3 separate regions of the Homo sapiens genome follow, and all the other regions are linked to region 1. Evidence: promoter capture Hi-C in human tissues and cell types (Jung and others, 2019). All regions are on one chromosome and are shown on one strand. Each heading gives the region's core, a stretch centred on a gene start or on the middle of the fragment in contact. The rest is flanking DNA. Distances are from core to core; before and after follow the strand shown.

Region 1 (3,141 bases), core at 189-2,688:
TGCACAGAAAACAAAGGACAGCAAAGAGAAAAGAATCAGCAACTCAGAGAAGAAAAACTGGATCACACAAAGATGGAAAAAATATATACATATACAGACATGGGTTTTTGTGCTTTTCCCCTCCAGAAGGTGAGTTGAAAGCATTGCCCCAAAGCAGTGATTCTCTTTTCTTTTTTCTTTTTTTTTCTTTTTTTTGAGATGGAGTCTGGCTCTGTCTCCCAGGCTGGAGTGCAGTGACGCCATCTTGGCTCACTGCAGGCTCCGCCTCCCGGGTTCACGCCATTCTCCCGCCTCAGCCTCCCGAGTAGCTGGGACTACAGGCGCCCGCCACCACGCCCGGCTAATTTTTTTGTATTTTTAGTAGAGACGGGGTTTCACCATGTTAGCCAGGATGGTCTCGATCTCCTGACCTCGTGATCCGCCCACCTCGGCCTCCCAAAGTGCTGGGATTACAGGCGTGAGCCACCGCGCCCGGCCCCAAAGCAGTGATTCTCAAACCTCAGCTGTGTCAGGGTCACCGGGAGGGCCTGGGTCTGGTGAAATACCCCCAGTTTCTGATTCGGTGGGCCAGGGTGGGGCCTGAGAACCTGCATTTTCACGGATTCCCAGGCGATGCTTCTGCTGGTCGTCCGATCCCAGGCTTCAAGAACCAGTACCCACTTTGTGAGGCCGAGGTGGGAGGATTGCTTGGATCCTTGAGTTCGAGACCAGCCTGGCCATCATAGGGAGAACCTCCCCACCCCCAACCCCGCCACAGTTCTTTTTTTTTTTTTTTTTAATTAAAAAATAACTGGGCGTGGTGGCGCTGGCCTGTGGTCCCAGCTACTCCGGAGGCTGAGGTGGGAGGATCGCTGGAGCCCGGGAGGCGGAGGTTGCAGTGAGCTGTGGTGGTGCCACTGCACTCCAGCCTGGGCACCAGAACGAGACCCTGTCTCAAGAAAGATGAAAAGGAATATACTGGAGATTCTGAAGGCAATGACCACACTGACCACAGGTGAAACCCCGCAAAGACGGAGGAACCCAAAGAGCCACGAGAGCTGTGGGTGGAGACGGCCCAGGAGGCTGCAGCGGCCTGCTTTCAACAGCATACTTCTGGGTGGGACCCCCCGGGGCGGACACCGCCGCTCCCCTTGGCCGCGGTGGCGGGCGCCCCCTCCCGACGCTCTTGGGTAGTGCAACCCGGACCGCACAGCGGAGCGGCCGGCCCCCAGGTGGGCGGGGCCAACCCGGACCAGCCTCCCGCCGCCTCAAGTCCTTGGGTTGCTGGGACTGCAGGCCGCCGCGAAGACAGTCCCCGCCCGCCGGGTGGGCGGGCCCAAGGAGACCGCCCCGCTCTTCCCCCCGGGCCTTGATTGGTCAGCGTCGCCCTTGCGCGATGACGTCGTGCCTGGGCGGAAACTTTGCGAGAGTAGCGCGGGAGCTGAGAAGTTGCAGGGTTGAGTTGGTCCCGGCAAGTCCTTGAGCAGTTTGTTCCTCTGTCTTCCCGCTTCCTGGTGCCCCGACTGCGTCCCCACGAACGCCCCGTCCTTACCGCCGGCTGCTGTGGAGTGCCTCGCTGTCTCCCAGGTCCCCGAGTGAGCGTCGAATGGGACCTCTGTGGCTAGGGCAGGCCTGTGTGGGTGGCACTGAGAGGGAGGAGGGGAGGGGGATGTTCGCAGTTTCCTTGCGACCCCAGGGACTTTCTTTGTCCCCGCCATCCACCTCCTTAGGCCTTTGGGATCGCCGACTGGTCTAATGTCGCCGGCCCTTGTGGCTCTGGGAAATTAGCATTGATTAATCTTCCTAACAATTTTTGTTTTTATAGAGACAGGATCTCCCTATGTTGCCCAGGCTGGTCTCGAACTCCTGGGCTCAAGGTATCTTCCTGCCTCGGCTTCCCAAAGTGCTGGGATTACAGGCGTGAGCCCGGCCAGCTCCTAATAATGTTAAGTGCTTGCTAGGAGTCAAGCGCTGTGCTGAGCGCAGGGGCTTCCCACGTCATTGCGTCCCCAGTGCTTAGTGCCAGGCACTGAGCAGAGGCGCGATTCGTATTTGAACTAAAACGAACCCCGTCCCTGAGGAACAAGACCTCTACTGGGAAGTCAAAGAAATGAATAGTGATTGTATGGTGTGATGGGTGCTCAGCTCTTGGTGGACAGAAGTAAGGGGGAGGCTTGTTTGAGAAACGGATACCTGACCTAAGCCTTGGAGGAAGAGGCAGACACTGGAAAACTAGAGTCCCTGCGTTCTCTCACCACTTGCTAAAGGGCCTCTACAACCCCAGGAAACCTCAATAAACCTTTCCTTTCTCCAGATAGATGTCTGTTCTTGCAGATAATTAGAAAACGCATTGCAGAGTATTGGTTCTTTCCCTCTCATTAGGTTCCTGGTTTCAGAGAAGATGACCGAAGAAGTGGATTTCCTGGGACAGGACTCTGATGGGGGTAGTGAGGAAGTGGTCCTAACTCCTGCAGAGCTCATTGAAAGATTGGAGCAGGTAAGCATCCCAGATCGAATCCCTTTGCTCCAGTCAGCCTTTTTATTTAGTTCAACTGTGAATATCAGGGATCACAAGATGAGGAAACGGAATTTGGGGCTTACTTTAGAACAGGGACTGGATCTTACCATCTACATGGAAACGGGAAGCAAGAAGGACATCCTCTGTTAGAGACCTCATCATATCAAACACAGCATCCCCAAGTGGGGTCAGTAAGGGACAGCTTTGGGCACATTCAGTGAACAGTTCACAGAGCAAGGATCCACGTGATATTTTCAGGGACTGTAGAGGTCCCTGAACTTCTTTACCTTAGTCCCTTGAACATCTGCTGTTTCCCTGGAGAATGCCTGTTTAGCAAGAAAATGCTGAAATGCCTGTAAGGGAAAACTGGTCATATTTTTCCTTTTTCTCACATGTTTTTTCTTGAGTCGTCTGCTCTCCATATGTCCACTGCTTATCTAAAATCCTTTCTGAAATATTTCTCCTTTAAGTTGTAATAGCTATGACTTACTGCATATTTCCCATGTGCCAGTAACTGTGTTCTTTACACTTATATCTCATGATGCTCTGGTAACAGGAGTTCAGACTATCTGGATTTAAATCTGTCTGTGACACTCCTCTGTTATGTGATCTTGAGCAAGTTAGGGAGTTTGTCTCAAGCCGTT
Region 2 (3,141 bases), core at 176-2,675, 1.3 Mb before region 1:
AGTTTATTAAAATCACCAGCAATGCATAAAAGACATTGCGTGAAGAGATATTAACAGTTAGGAAGTAGTAGATTTTTGACATGGACAGATGACCACAGCATGGAATTGGCCTAGGGTGGGGCTTGGCCATGGGTCACTTTTCAAAGCTCCTGAGCAATGCTGGCACCCATTCATGGTTGTCCGCCACTGGGGCAGCAGTTTCGGCCATCTGGTAGGAACAGAGCACAAAGCTCCACCTATATCCCAGCTGCTGGCTAAGGAAAATGAAACTGTTCCAAGTCAGATTTTTTTTTTTCAAGCTCCTCTCTAGACAAAGGAGAAGATAATAAAATAAAAGAGTTAAAACTAGAATATGAGACATTTGGATTGGATATAAGAAGAAACTTGGGGGAAGAAGAGGTTAGGTATTAAAATGTATGACCTCAGGGATATTGTGTCATATCATTTTCTGGAGGGTTTCACAACAGGGATGAATTTCCATCTGTCTTCAAGGTGTTTCTAATGGAATGTCAAGATGATACTGGAGACTATAGCTCATTCTTTTAGACAGGGCTGAATTCTGCACTTATTCATTGAAAATAAATCAAGTTTTTCCCAAGTGTCCTATAATGTCCTAAAAAAGGGCACTAGGCTGGATGAAGGATTTGGGTGTACACATTGTGGCGGGTCCTGTTTGTAGAACTGTGACAGGCAGTAGAGTGTTTGGGGTAACTATGTATCCCCTAAAGCCAACTGCCTGGTTTCAGTTTTTCCACTTATTGATAGATAAACATACTCCTTAACAACCCTATCAGTTTACCTGTAATAGGGATAATGATGATGATGCTGGTGCTACCATCTTCATATAATTATTCTAATATTAGTTAATAGGCTATACTCCAAGAGTTCAATTAGTTCATATATGTAAACTACGTATACCACCCATGGAACATAGCAGATATTTGTATAAATATTTAATTTTTTTCATTAAAAGTGATTTTACGTTATCTGCATCAGAAGATTCATTCAATCCCAATTAATATTTTTACTTGCAAAATTAAAATATACACTCTTTTTTTCCTGTTCCTTAAGCTACAATAAAGTACAACACTTTCTAGGAAGGGCAAAATCTTAGTGCTGGAAGGAAATAATGAAATCTTCCAGAGGAACGGTTTTCAACTGTGGTTGCGTATTAGGGAGCTTTCAAATAATATTTATACCCAGACCCAAATACAAACAAGAGAATCAGGTGTGGAGGTTAGACACCAGTTTTTTTGTTTTTATTTTGTTTTCTTTTTCTGTTTTTGTTATTTACTCAACTTCATTTGTCATTCCAAAGTCTAACAAAGGATTCAAGCCATTGGTCTGGAACCATCTCTTCAAAATGCAGAAATTTCTCTAACCAACCTCTTCTTAATATTTCCATTGACACAGAATGGTATTTCCATTACCTCACATAAAACTGAATAGTCCTTTAAGTGTAATTCATGCTAAGCAAACAATTCAGACTGAACACATTCAATGTTTATTTTCAAATTTGAATTCATCACCTCCTTACGTTGTTGGCAAAAGTGATAAACAAATGATAAATGCCAAATATAATGAAATATTTCTGCAAATTCTGCAACTTTTTACAACCATCACAGTTAAGTGAAATAAAATATTTTCAAAAGCAAATTAAATTCTTTAGTAATAAATAACACAGTTATTATTACTTTGAATAAAATTACATAAAGATGGCATTTCGGTTTTGAAAGCTGTTTAGGAATCTATCTCCACATGATCAATTTCATTTATTTCTTTTTGAATTTATTTTATTTATCCATTACCAGTTGTGCAATAAACTATATAATCAAGAACCAGTGTCAGGCACTGGGCTATAAACCTTAATAAGGGCAAAACCAAAAGCTGGATTCAAAACTCAAAACTGTCAATTTCTTCAACGTGCCATACCTTTCTGTTTCCCCTAAACTATTAATTGTATTGGATATTTGCAGTTAAGCTGATTTTTAAATAGATTTGATATTGTTTGTAACAACTCAGAGCTATAATTCAGGTAAATTAAGGACTTGGTGGGGGAAGATTTTCTGTGGACGTTTTTTAAAAAATGAGTTCTTCTAGCTTATTTAAGATGTGATTTAACTCACCAGACTGTAGTGTGTATACAATTTCTGGAGACATTGATCAAGTAAGCCAGGACCTGCCTGCAACCAAGGCTATGTGTGCTGTGATCATTCTCTAAGTATCAGTGGGGGTTGCACATAGGCTGGTTTAGAGGACACAAATGAGATAAGAACAGGATGCCTAAAGCCTGGATGCCACTTAATTCAATGAGGACAGATCGTCTGAGTCAGTTTGGTTTGGAGGAAGGGCAGAAGTTGACTGTTCTTCGGAAGGACATCCGGAAGGGCGGTCACCAGGGAAACTGCAAATCACAATAACACTGCCACGGGTGCTGTTAAAGATGGTTACTGCAGCCTCCTCAGAAAAGCACTATTACATTTTAATCTCTTTATGGCGAATTATCAGCGGACCAAGGGTCATGAGCACCAGGTAGTAACAGCCCTCATTAATGGATGTTTAATCACTGCTATTTCTCCAGAGCCTTTAGAGTGCAGATTTTAGATCTGGTCTTATTTCTTCTAGATACTATCATTAACACATATCTTAGAAAACTTTTTGTATCCCAGATTTCCTTTGTTCATTTTATTTGCAACGGAACTGGCAGAGACCCATGGAGCCAGAATTAACGCAATGAAACACAATTAATACAAGTGACAAAGTGTTCATAATGATGATGTTGAATGGGAAGAAACCATCAACGTAGTTTTAAAACATTTCCAGGAGGGATAGCATTAGGAGATATACCTAATGCTAAATGACGAGTTAATGGGTGCAGCACACCAACATGGCACATGTATACCTATGTAACAAATCTGCACGTTGTGCACAGGTACCCTAAAACTTAAAGTATAATAATAATAAAATTTTAAAAAAAATTTCCAATGAACTTTTCCCCTCGAAATGCTAAAGTAAATCTTGACAGAGTGTTTTTTTTTATTGTAAACTCAATTTCTCAGATTTCTTTTTGTTCCATGTATAAAATCCAATTTTTGTGGTTCTTTTTCCTCAATGATACACAAACAAGCGTTAGTAATACTT
Region 3 (3,141 bases), core at 449-2,948, 1.3 Mb before region 1:
CATTCTTGCCTTTTGATCATTTTATCAGAAATTTCTTTTACAAGCACTTCCTATTTACCAAATAATGGTTGACATCACTAGTATCCTGTTGTCTCCAGTCCTGTTCTCTTTCTCTGTGGATTAATAATCTTTTTATTGCTTTACTGAAATTTTAGTAGGGATTCAAGGAATGAGTACAACATATTTTCAATTTGACACTATAACCAGACATTTTTATAGCTTTTTGGTGTAAAATTTTATGTTTTTGTTTTTTCTGTCTTTTTTTAAAAGATTATCAGATAATCATTAGAACAAAAGTTTTTCTATTATATTTATTTTTATCTCTTTTTCTTCAACTTTTATTTTAAGTTCCAGGGTACATGTGCAGGATGTGCAGGTTTGTTACATAGGTAAATATTTATTTTTAAAAGAAATAATTTGGGGTGTCTCTGTTAGCTCTATTGTTTTTCTGTTTTCTGATTCCTAATTTATTACCTCTGAGTTTAATCTTCCTGATTTTCTTAGCATATAAAAATTAACTTAAAGTTTAGAATTGATTATATAGTTATTTTTCCAGCTAGTCTCATTTATTAGAGACATATTTAAAATTTTGAAGGTTCAGCTAAACATAGTGCTAATAATTTATGTATAGTTTCTTCATTGTAATGATTTTCTTAAAAGTTTGTGATTGAAGTTGACTTCCTCTTTGACAAAAGAGTTAATTAGGACAATATTTTTAATTTTCCAAAGCTGAAAAATATTCTTTTGACATTTTATGTTAACTTCTACTTTGATGATAATATGTTTTACACAATTTCATTTAATTGAATGAGGTCTTTTCTTTTATCTTATGGTCAATAAACAATATTGATTAGCTGACTTCATATCTACCACCCTTCCCTTAGTCCACTTCAGTTGTGGGAGATATGTTTCCAAAGTGGCAATCTGTTGTGTTTTCTGGTAGATTTTTCTTTCCTTACAAACCCATTGATTACTCTCCACCCCTTTTTTGCCTTGAACACAGATGGTCCAATGAGAGCAATATCAGACATACTAAAACCCTGAAGGAAAGGCCGAGAAACTAATAGAATAAATCTACTGTGATTTCGAGCTTTTAAATGAGCTGTACATCAATTACATTTTTCATCTGTACTTCTTGCTATGTTTGAAAACAAAAACAAAACAAAACACAGCCTCTTTGTGCCTCTCTGGGCACATTCTAAGTTACCTGAAATAGTTTCTTACTAATACAAACCTAATATATGATCACTCTTTGTATGTGTTCTATGGGCACTTTTTGAGGGGTTATTATCTGTAGTATTGAAAGTACTAACATAACATTTTATTAAATAAATATTATATAAAGAATATATCCTATGCAAAGAAATTAGCATATTTCTTATTTCTCTTAAGCTACTAACTTCCCAATTTTTCTCCATACACTGTGGCACTAGTTATTATTATTGTTGACTATTATATGTAAATAAATATATATCATATGTAAATAAGTATATTTTATATTTGCCTTCCATATTGCAGCATTATTTTTTACAAATTATAATTAATGCTAACCACTGGTTTTTTTGTCATGGATTTCCCATTCATGACATTTTAAGTTTGATTAATCACTTATTTAGTAAAAGTATGTCTGAAACTTTTGTTTTGCAAGAATAATAGCTGGTCTAGCAGTAACAACATAAGGATAATTTAGAAGTTAAAATAGAATCTTTGTTTCTCCCATAAGCTTAGACAATGAGGTGAACTGGCCTGGGCCTTTGAATCATTAGCCAAAGATGCAAAGACACAATGTGAGAAATTTCTGGTAACTAAGAAAACAGTAACTCACTGTTTCTGTAGGTCATGGAAGAAGCATAACTGGCAGTGGTTTCCAGAGCCTACAGCTGCTGGTAGTCTTGGTATAAACTATTGTGCCCACTATTGTTGTCTAAACTGTTTTCTGCCTGTTTCACAATCCGTTTGTCTTAGTCTGTTTTGTGCTGCTACCAGAGAATGCTTGAAACGGGGTAATTTATAATGAACATAAATTTATTGGCTAATCATTTTGGAGGTTGAGAGGTCCAATATCGAGGGGCCAGCATCTTGCAAGTACCTTCTTGCTGTATCATCCCATGGCAGAAGGGCAAAGAGAAGGCAAGAAAGAGCAAGAGATCAGACTCACAGCCCCAAGCCATTTTCTTTTTTATTTTATTTTATTTTATTATTATTATACTTTAAGTTTTAGGGTACATGTGCACAACGTGCAGGTTTGTTACATATGTATACATGTGCCATGTTGGTGTGTTGAACCCATTAACTCATCATTTAGCATTAGGTATATCTCCTAATGCTATCCCTCCCCCCTCCCCCCACCCCACAACAGTCCCCAGTGTGTGATGTTCCCCTTCCTGTGTCCATGTGTTCTCATTGTTCAATTGCCACCTATGAGTGAGAACATGTGGTGTTTGGTTTTTAAATGATGAGTTCATGTCCTTTGTAGGGACATGGATGAAGCTGGAAACCATCATTCTCAGCAAACTATCGCAAGGACAAAAAGCCCCAAGCCATTTTTTAATGAGCATTAATCAATTCATGAAGGTGGAGCCCTCGTGACCTAAACGCCTGCCATTAGGGCCCATCTCCCTCTTGGCAACACTATTGCATTTGAGATTAAGTTCCCACCACATGCTCTTTGGGGGATACCTTTAAACCATAACACATTTCATCAGTATTCCTAGTGATTCTATGAGTTACCTAATATCCTAGTAATTTTATGTTTTGCTTATATCAGTCATAGTTGGTTTCTGTTTTTTAAAACCAAGACTGATGGGGTTAAACATTCAACATTAAGCTATTTTTCTGTTTCCCTTAGCCTCTCCATGAACCACAATTTTCACGTGCTGCTGTTCTGAGCTAAGAAATAAATATCTAACAAATGCATTCCCTAAAGGTTAGATAGCCAGTCCTCACCCTTGGAACCAGGATGTTCAAATAAGGTTTAAGGGTTTTTTTGTTTTTGTTTCTTTTTAAAAGGGCTCTTTTACATGCTTCCAACTGACATTTATTTTTGTTCAAAGACATTGCTGGAAATAAACCTTCAGTGAACTCCCTCAATTGTTTTTCCCATCAGCACTTTATCTAGGAATTTCCCAAAGATTCTGATCT

Evidence for each region. The method cuts DNA at HindIII sites, captures the fragments that hold promoters and counts their contacts. A contact is called where the count stands out against the background at its distance.
Region 2: a fragment that was not itself captured here is called in contact with the fragment with the promoter of GINS4 in region 1 in 1 of the 25 tissues and cell types used here (liver).
Region 3: a contact is called between a fragment that was not itself captured here and the fragment with the promoter of GINS4 in region 1, in 1 of the 25 tissues and cell types used here (heart right ventricle).

The regions. Positions count from the first base shown.
Region 1 is chr8:41,527,823-41,530,963 of GRCh38, forward strand. It overlaps GINS4 (GINS complex subunit 4), which reads left to right and starts at 1,439. Exons shown (of 8, transcript NM_032336.3): 1 at 1,439-1,574; 2 at 2,362-2,476. The coding sequence starts at 2,381. RefSeq lists a silencer at 985-1,414. The HindIII fragment of the contact is 17,762 bases long and covers 1-3,141 here.
Region 2 is chr8:40,208,563-40,211,703 of GRCh38, forward strand. No RefSeq gene overlaps it. Among named protein-coding and RNA genes, the nearest start is that of TCIM, 57 kb to the left of the region's middle. The HindIII fragment of the contact is 4,749 bases long and covers 1-3,141 here.
Region 3 is chr8:40,246,564-40,249,704 of GRCh38, forward strand. No RefSeq gene overlaps it. Among named protein-coding and RNA genes, the nearest start is that of TCIM, 95 kb to the left of the region's middle. The HindIII fragment of the contact is 3,343 bases long and covers 28-3,141 here.